Linked DNA regions of Homo sapiens: regions 2 and 3 are each linked to region 1. The links are contacts of gene promoters, found by promoter capture Hi-C in human tissues and cell types (Jung and others, 2019). All regions are on one chromosome and are shown on one strand. Each heading gives the region's core, a stretch centred on a gene start or on the middle of the fragment in contact. The rest is flanking DNA. Distances are from core to core; before and after follow the strand shown.

Region 1 (2,816 bases), core at 317-2,816:
TTGACTATAAACTGAGCTTTCCAGGTATTCCTAAAAAACATCTTTGACTGTAATAGGTGAAGGCTAGTCAAGTGCATTCTCGATCAAAAGAGAGAAAATCTACATGCTGAATGGAAATAGAAACCTTTTAGCTGAGAGAAAATACTTGGAATGTGTTTATTTAGCATTTTTCCCCTTTCTTTTTCTTTTGGGTAAAGCCTGGTAAGTTTATTCCAGCCTCCTCAAGAAGTGCATCAGCGATCAAACTTGAAATCTGTTCATCACTCACTCCCCAAATAAGCTGTTCAAGCAGAATGAAACCGGCCTTCCTTGCCTCCACGTATCAGTCCAGCATCTTGTATTAAAATGCCTGGAACAAGCCGGGCGCGGTGGCTCACGACTGTAATCCCAGAACTTTGGGAGGCCAAGGAGAGCAGATCACGAGGTCAAGAGATCGAGACCATCCTGGCCAACATGGTGAAACCCCGTCTCTACTAAAAATACAAAAATTAGCCGGACGTGGTAGCGCGCGTCTATAGTCTCAGCTACTCGGGAGGCTGAGGCAGGAGAATCGCTTGAACCCGGGAGGCGGAGCCTGCAGTGAGCCGAGATCGCGCCGCGGCACTCCAGCCTGGGCGACAGGGCGAGACTCGGTCTCAAATTAAAAAAAAAAAAGCCTGTAACAACACTTCGCTGAATCCAGATAAACGTAAACGCTGCCGAGCACTGTAAGTTCTGTTCTGCCATAACAGGAGTGAAAAGAACGCTCCCCTTTTCCCACACTCTCTGGGTGCCCCTAAAAAGGGATACTAATAATGCCCGTAAGGGCCCATTGGGAGCAGCCAGGACTGCCGTCCCCCCCTGGCCCGTCGCTCGGCCTCAGTCTATCGCGGCTCCCGGACTGCGGCTCCGACTCCCGCAGCCCGTTCGTTCGCCCCGCGCCGGTCCCTCGGGAGACCGGATCTGTGGCCCCCGGGACTCCGGCCAGAGCGGGGCCCCACCATGCAACTCTAGTGGAAAGTTCTCGTCGCATCCCAGACCAGACCTGCTACCTACGTTCCACTCGTCGGAACTTCAGGACTTGCAGCGCGCCCGGCCGAGCTCGATTTCCTCCTCTGCGGTGAAGAGGGGAGCCTGCAACGCCGACCCCGACCCGGCTTCACCACGATGCGCACCCGCAAGCCAGGCTGGGTGCCCTCGGGACGCTTGAGGCGCCGCGGTCAGTGGACGGTAGGTTCGCCTACGCCCCCTCCTCTGGCACCGCAGTGGGTGGAGGGTGTTTGCAAACTTGTCCAGCAGCCAGGCGCGCCCCTGTGGACGCGCTCCCTCCCCAGAGGCCCCTGCTTCCTCCTGGGAGCCCCCACCCCCTCGCCTGGCCCCCAGCCGGGCGCACTCACCTCTACGCCAGAGCGCGGGGAGGAAGAGGCCCAGCAGCAGCGGCAGCGGGGCCGGCCCCATCCCGGGGCTGCGGATCTGTAATTTCTCTCCGGACGGATGGACAGATGGACGTCCCGAACCTGTCCTGTCGCCGGCCAAGCGCGCCAGCGAAGCTCCCTGTCCGGGCGGCCCGGGCAGTGAGTGCCGAGTGGCGGAGCCAAGCGGCCGGCGGGAGGTGCCGAGGGCTGGAAGGGGCGGGCCGGGGGCCGAGCCGAGGCCGGCCGGGGCTGGAGGAGAGGAGCGGGCAGGGGGGCGAGTCCCGGCGGGCCCAGCAGGTTGGGGTGGGAGGGGGCGGGAGGACGAGGGGGAGGAGGGGCGTAAAGGGGAAAGGGAGGGGGTTGGAGAGAAGGGGCGGGCCGAAGGCCGCCGCTGGGCAGACGGCGGGGAAGGGGGCGGAGAGGAAGGGGAGGGGGCTGAGAGACCCGGAGGGAGCCGGAAAGAGAAGTGAAGGGGAGGGGTGGACTGGAGGTCCACAGCGGAAGGCTCTGGCCGCTGCGCGGGTCCGGGGCCCCACACGTGTGGGTGGGAGATGGGGAAGGACAGAAGGTGGGAGAGGAGTAGAGGATGCCCGAGGCAGCCCCCAGACCCAAGAGGAGGGTCCAGAGGCGCCCCCGCATTCCGGGCTTGGCTGACACAGAAAACCCTGGCCGCGCCGCTCCCAGAGGCCAAGGCCAGGGCGGCAGCGCTCCCTGCCGAGCGCTCCTCCACATCCATTCCGCTCGCCGCCGAGCGCCGCCTGGGTACCCGGCCCGAGGTGCGCGACACGGCCCTGGCGGCGAGGAGCTCACCTCCCCAGGGGGAGGGGTTCCTGGGAAAGGACGCTTTGCCGTGGCTCCGTGACGAGCCAGAGAGAGGTGACACTCAAGGAGGGAGATGAACGTGAATGACAAAGTGCAGAGCAGGAGTGGGGAGAGGGGGAACCACAGCACGTCACTCTCATGGGCCTCCACAAGGTGTGCAGGGTCCAAGAGGCAGTAGCAGAGAGTGAGTCGTAAGAGAAATGTAACTACTTACGCTAATAATGGCAACAGTAACTTAATTTATATACGTAGTTTCTTAAAGGTAACACTTTTAGAATGAATGTATTTTAATGTGGTCCCTTTAACAACATAACATAAGCCAAATCATGTCCCTCTCCTCAAATCTCCCTAAACCTATCAGTGGTTCCTGCTGTCTCTGCGTACGTAAGCCAAGGTTCTGCAGTGGTCTACGAGGTTCTACGTGACCTGGTCCCCTTTCCTCTTTGGCCTCATCTCCTTACGCCTCTTCAATTTACGTTGGTCTCGTCAAGCGGTCCCTTGACCCCTACACTGGCTGGACACTTCCCGTAGATTTGGCTACGGGAAGGAGACAGGCAGCCCAGATGGGTTTAGACAGGTTATTACTTACACCGACAGCAA
Region 2 (2,816 bases), core at 175-2,674, 1.3 Mb after region 1:
CACACATACACGTAACGCCATTTTCTATGCTGATAATTGTTTTGCTCTGAAGTCTGCTCTGTCAGAAATGAATATAGCTATTATTACATTTTCTTTTATTAGTGTTAGCATGGTATGTCTTTTTCTATCCCTTTACTTTTTTTTTTTTTTGAGAAGGAGTCTCGCTCTATCACCCAGGCTGGAGTGTAGTGCCGTAGTACTATGATCTTGGCTCATTGCCACCTCCGCCTCCCAGGTTCAAGTGATTTTCCTGTCTCAGCCTCCTGAGTAGCTGGGACTACAGGCGCACACCACCACGCCCAGCTAATTTTTGTATTTTTTTTGGAGACAGGGTTTCACCATATTGGTCAGGCTGGTCTCAAACTCCTGACCTCAGGTGATCCGCCTTCCTTGGCCTCCCAAAGTGCTGAGATTACAAGTGTGAGCCACCGCACCTGGGCTTATCCCTTTACTTTTCATCTGTCTTGGTATTTAAAGTATGTCTTTGTTTTGATTGGTATATTTAGACCACTGATATTTAAAGTGATTATTGATATAATTGGATTGTCACTATATTTGTTTTCTACTCCTTGCCCTTGTTCTTTCTTTGTCTGCTATTCTCTTTCTTCCTTCTCTGATTTTGAGTTCTTTCATAATTCCATTTTGTCTCCTCTCAGTGTATTAATTATACTTCTTTTAAAATTTTTTTAAGTGGTTAACCTAGTGTTTGCAATATACATCACAACTAATCTTTTTTGCTTGTGTAAGAAAATTTTTATTCTTCACATTTGAAGGATAATTTTACTGGATACAGAATTCTAGATTGGTGGATTCCAAATTTCTAAGTACTTTAGATATTTCACTCCACTCTCTTCTTGCTTGCATGGTTTCTGAGAAGTCCTGTGTAATTCTTATCTTTGCTCCTCTATAGGTAAGATGGTTTTGTCTTGCTTCTTTGAATATTTTCTCTGTGTCTTTTTCTGCAGTTTGAATATGATATGCCTAGATGTTGATTTTTCAGTATTTATCCTGCTTGGTGCTCTCTAAGCTTCCTGGATCTGTGGTTTGGTGTCTATCATTAATTTTGGAAAATTCTCTGCTATTATTACTTCAATTTTTTTTTTTTTTTTTTTTGAGACGGGGTTTTGCTCTTTTTTGCCCAGGCTACAGTGCAGTGGCACAATCTTGGTGCACTGCAACCTCCGCCTCCAGGGTTTAAGCAATTCTACTGCCTCAGCTTCCCGAGTAGCTGGGACTACAGATGCCCACCACCATACCCGGCTAATTTTTTGTATTTTTTGTAGAGATGGGGTTTCATCATGTTGGCCTTGAACTCCTGACCTCAAGTGATCCGCCCATCATGGCCTCCCAAAGTGCTGGGATTACAGGTGTGAGCCGCTGCACCCGGCCTCAGATATTTTTGTCTGTTCCTTTCTCCCTTCTTCCTTCTGGTATTCCCATTCTACATCTGTTATACATTTTGTAGTTGTCCCACATTCCTTAAATACTCTATTCTATCTATTTCTTTCTATTTTTTTTTTTTTTTTTTTTTTTGCATTTCAGTTTTGGAAGTTTTTATTGGCCTATCTTCAAGCTCACTGATTCTTTTCCCTGCCATGTATAGTCTATTGGTGAGTCAATCAAAGGCATTCTTTATTTCTGTTACAGTGGGTTTTTATTTCTAGCACCTTTTTTTGCTTCTCAGTTTCTCTCTGCCTGTATTACCCATTTCTTCTTGCACACTGTCTACCTTTTTCATTAGAACCCTTAGCATGTCAATTAGAATTAAAAAAAAAATTTCTAGTGTGGGCCTGGCATGGTAGCTCATTCCTATAATCCCACCACTTTGGGAGGCTGAGGTAGGATGATCACTTGAGCCCAGGAGTTTGAGGCTGTAGTGAGCTATGTTCATGCTACTGCACTCTAGCCTGGGTGACAGAGTGAGAACCTATCTCTAAAAACACAAACAACAAAATCCTAGTCTGATAATTCTAAAATCTCTGCCATATGTGTGTCTGTTTCTGATGCTTACTCTGGCTCTTCAGGCTGTGATTTTTGTCTTTTACTATGCCTTGTGAGTTTTTGTTAAGAGCCAGACCTAATATATGAGCTAAAAGGAAATGGGATTAAATAGACCTTTAGTGTGAGCTTTCATGCTTAATCTGCCTATGGGTTAGGCTGTGTTTACTGTTTGCTGTCACTACATAAGAGGCTATAATTGCCCTATGTGTCCTTATTTTTTTGTTTCCCCTGTTATCTTTGGGTTTCCCTACGGACTTTTTAAATAAGGTCTCAGATGTGCAGTTCTTTACATTATAACTCCCCCAGTACTGGTTCCAGCAGTGGTTTCTGTTCCTGGGCTTCTAGTTTGGCAAGCTGTGATTCTCTGCGTCCACTTGTCTGTCTCTAATTTTGGAGGAAGCAGATTGTCCTTTGACCTCAGTTCTCTAATGGATCTCAGAAGCGTCGTTGATTTTCAGCCATTTGGCTTACTGTGAGGGTGGAGTGATGACTCCAAGCTCCTCATATGCTGGACCAGGAACCAGAAATCTACTACTTTACATCTGATTTTGAACATGTGAATTCTTGTTTTTAATTTAATTTAAAAATCTACTAGTACAGTCTAGGTGTGTTAGCTCACTCCTGTAATCCCAACACTTTGGGAGGCCAAGGCAGGAGGATCACTTGAAGCCAGGAATTTGAGACAAGCCTGGGCAACATGGTAAGACCCCATCTCTACAAAAAATTTAAGAATTAGCTGGGCATGGTGGTGCACGCCTGTGGTCCTGGCTTCTCAGGAGCCTGAGGTGGGAGGATCACTTGGGCCCAGGAGGTCA
Region 3 (2,816 bases), core at 118-2,617, 1.0 Mb after region 1:
TGTGAGACCCACATGCTCGGTGAATCCATTACAAGCCACTTGCCTGAAGGTGGCCCTGAGCAGTCCCATCCAGACCTTTGATTAGAAGGTTAGGCCCATCTGACAATGGAGGGTATCTGGGTAGGGGCTGGCAGTGGCTAGGTTCACACAGGAAGGGGCACCAGCTGCCTTGCCTCTGGAGGAGGAGTCTTCTGTGGCCAGGAGGACGGCAAGGGGCAGTGGCAGCTCTCCAAGGTGGCTGAGGGCCAAGAGAGCACAGTGGCTCAGGGTGTGGGCTCTGGAGACAGATGCTATGGGCTCGAATGACTCACTGGCTACTTTGCCTCTTGTGGCCAATGAATAAGGGGAGGGTCACCTGGGCAAGCACAGGGCTTGCAGGGACTCCAGCATGACACAGATGCACTCAGAGCCTGGCCTGGCCTTGCTGGAAGAGATGCGAGCCCCAGCGCTGGAGAGTGCTGGCATGTGCCCCTGGGAGCAGGAGAGAATACATCCCCGCCAGGAAGCTCACCCACCACACATTTGCCATTGTGGCCAGTGAGCCTCCAAACAGAAGGTTAAACAAAAGGTGAAACTACATACTCAGCAAGGCCTTTGGGGTGACAGAACACAGAAATGCAGTTTTCTGGGACCTTTTGACACACAGTCTGGAAGTGTGTGTGGCTCTGATACATGCCTAAACAATGCCAACAACGACTGCATTGATACGGGATTTACAATACACACAGCCTTCCCCAGGGATGAGACTTGAAATGCTGAGTATTCACAATGCCGGTGGGCCCCAGGGTTGAGAGTGAGAGCACAAATAGGGGAGAAGCTTACCATCTCCTAGCTGTGTGACATCGGCCATGTGGCCTACCCTCTCTGTGCTTCAGACACTTCAGCTACAAAGAGGGCAAACAGTACCTACTCCCAGAATTGTGACGATAAAAGTAAGTAATGTAGTTAAGGTGCTCAGAGTAGCATCTGGACCATGGCAACCACCCAAGAAATGTTAGCTGCCACTGTCACAATGTCACCCCCATGAACATGAGGGTGCATTTTCCAGAGGGAGCATTTTGGAAAATACATCAGCCTTGCCTATATATTAGCAACATAAGAAACTCCAGGCTGGAAGCAGTGGCTCACGCCTGCAATCCCAACACATTGAGAGGCTGAGGTGGGAGGATCACTTGAGCCCAGGAATTCATGACCAGCCTGGGCAACATGGTGAAACCCCATCTCTACTAAAAATACAAAACATTTAGCTGGGCATGGTGGCACATGGCTGTAGTACCAGCTACTCGGGAGGCTGAGGTGAAAGAATCACCTGAGCCTGGGAAGTTGAGGCTGCAGTGAGCTGGGGTTGCACCAGTGCACTCCAGCCTGGGAAACAGAGTGAGGCACTGTTTTGAAAAAAGAAAAGAAATTCTAGTGGAGCAATGCTGAGAAAAATGAATAAGATGTGTGTACTAGAAGAAGAGAATGGAAAACAAAGACCAGGCCAGCTGGTTGTGATCTGAAAACCAATAGATTCACGTGGGTCGATAGAGAAGAGCGTTCCTGCCAAAGGAATCAATTGCTCACATGCACTGTTGATGGCAGGCTCCTTTTCCCAAGAAGAAAAGGTGCATCAGCCAATCCTGAGCCAGAAACCAGAGCACCCAGATCCAGAGAAAAGACTCTGGTGCCACAAATGACAATCCCTGCAGGAATTAAGGAAAATGATAACACCAGACAGAGCAGCCCCAAAAAATCAAACTTGTAAAGTAAGTTTCATTTAGAAACTCGCTTCATAGTGTGGTTCTCACTTTATTTATACTTGAGATGTTTCCAAAGCTTAGCTACCTTTTCTCCATTGACTACATGAAATTCGTTACACAAAAATGTAGTCTGCAAAAAATATACAAGTGTAAATAAATCAGTTCCCCTGCATTTCTATCAAGAATAGCAATTTTTGGCCGGGCGTGGTGGCTTGCACCTGTAATCCCAGCACTTTGGGAGGCTGAGGCGGGTGGATCACGAGGTCAGGAGTTCAAGACCAGCCTAGCCAAGATGGTTAAACCCTGTCTCTACTAAAAATACAAAAATTAGCTGAGCGTGGTGGTGGGCACCTGTAATCCCAGCTACTCGGGAGGCTGAGGTAGGAGAATGGCGTGAGCCCAAGAGGCAGAGCTTGCAGTGAGCCGAGATCATGCCACTGCACTCCAGCTTGGGTGACAGAGCAAAACTCCATCTCAAAAAAAAAAGCAATTTTTGAGTTGCTTTTTCATGTCAACTTTTTGCTACACACCAAAAGGTATTTAATATTGATCTCCTAATTTCTAAAACGCAAAGACTCCTTTGACACCTGGAATTCAAAAGAAGTCCTTATTGGCCCTCCAGTCCCCACCCAGACCTTCTCACCTTCCTGAGCCCTGTCCAAACAGGACTTTGTTTCCTTTCAGACCGATTATTCATCATGCAAGAAAAATAAATGGGCACATACTTTATCCAAGACACCATTCAGCAGTCTACAGATGCCAGTGATCAGGGGGCCACATCTTATTAGTCACTGACTTTCAGAGTCTGGAAGAGAACAAGTTCTCCAGAAGTGCCAAAGTGTGCACAGAATGATGGATGGACACAGAGAGATGCAGAAGGATCTATGCCCCTAGTCAGTGCCTGCCTCAACCTCTTGTCTCCAGCACACCCATTACCACACCCCCAGGCCTCTTCCTCCAGAAATGAATCAGGCACTAGTCCTCCCCTGCTAACTTGCTGACATCTGCTAGAGACAGAAGCCCAGCTCCATGCCCTTCCAAGCTTCACTCCTGTCCACTCCCTTCCTTGCCTCC

Evidence for each region. The method cuts DNA at HindIII sites, captures the fragments that hold promoters and counts their contacts. A contact is called where the count stands out against the background at its distance.
Region 2: a fragment that was not itself captured here is called in contact with the fragment with the promoter of MERTK in region 1 in 1 of the 25 tissues and cell types used here (aorta).
Region 3: a contact is called between a fragment that was not itself captured here and the fragment with the promoter of MERTK in region 1, in 1 of the 25 tissues and cell types used here (spleen).

Annotation. Positions count from the first base shown.
Region 1 is chr2:111,897,357-111,900,172 of GRCh38, reverse strand. MERTK (MER proto-oncogene, tyrosine kinase) reads right to left here and starts at 1,566. Exons shown (of 19, transcript NM_006343.3): 1 at 1,377-1,566. The coding sequence starts at 1,437. RefSeq lists an enhancer at 2,098-2,427. The HindIII fragment of the contact is 10,682 bases long and covers 1-2,816 here.
Region 2 is chr2:110,642,776-110,645,591 of GRCh38, reverse strand. The region is part of intron 19 of BUB1 (BUB1 mitotic checkpoint serine/threonine kinase); the gene reads left to right. Among named protein-coding and RNA genes, the nearest start is that of SNORD132, 14 kb to the left of the region's middle. The HindIII fragment of the contact is 4,918 bases long and covers 1-2,816 here.
Region 3 is chr2:110,867,183-110,869,998 of GRCh38, reverse strand. All of the region lies in intron 10 of ACOXL (acyl-CoA oxidase like), which reads right to left. Among named protein-coding and RNA genes, the nearest start is that of ACOXL, 140 kb to the right of the region's middle. RefSeq lists enhancers at 302-912, 2,397-2,816. The HindIII fragment of the contact is 3,359 bases long and covers 1-2,816 here.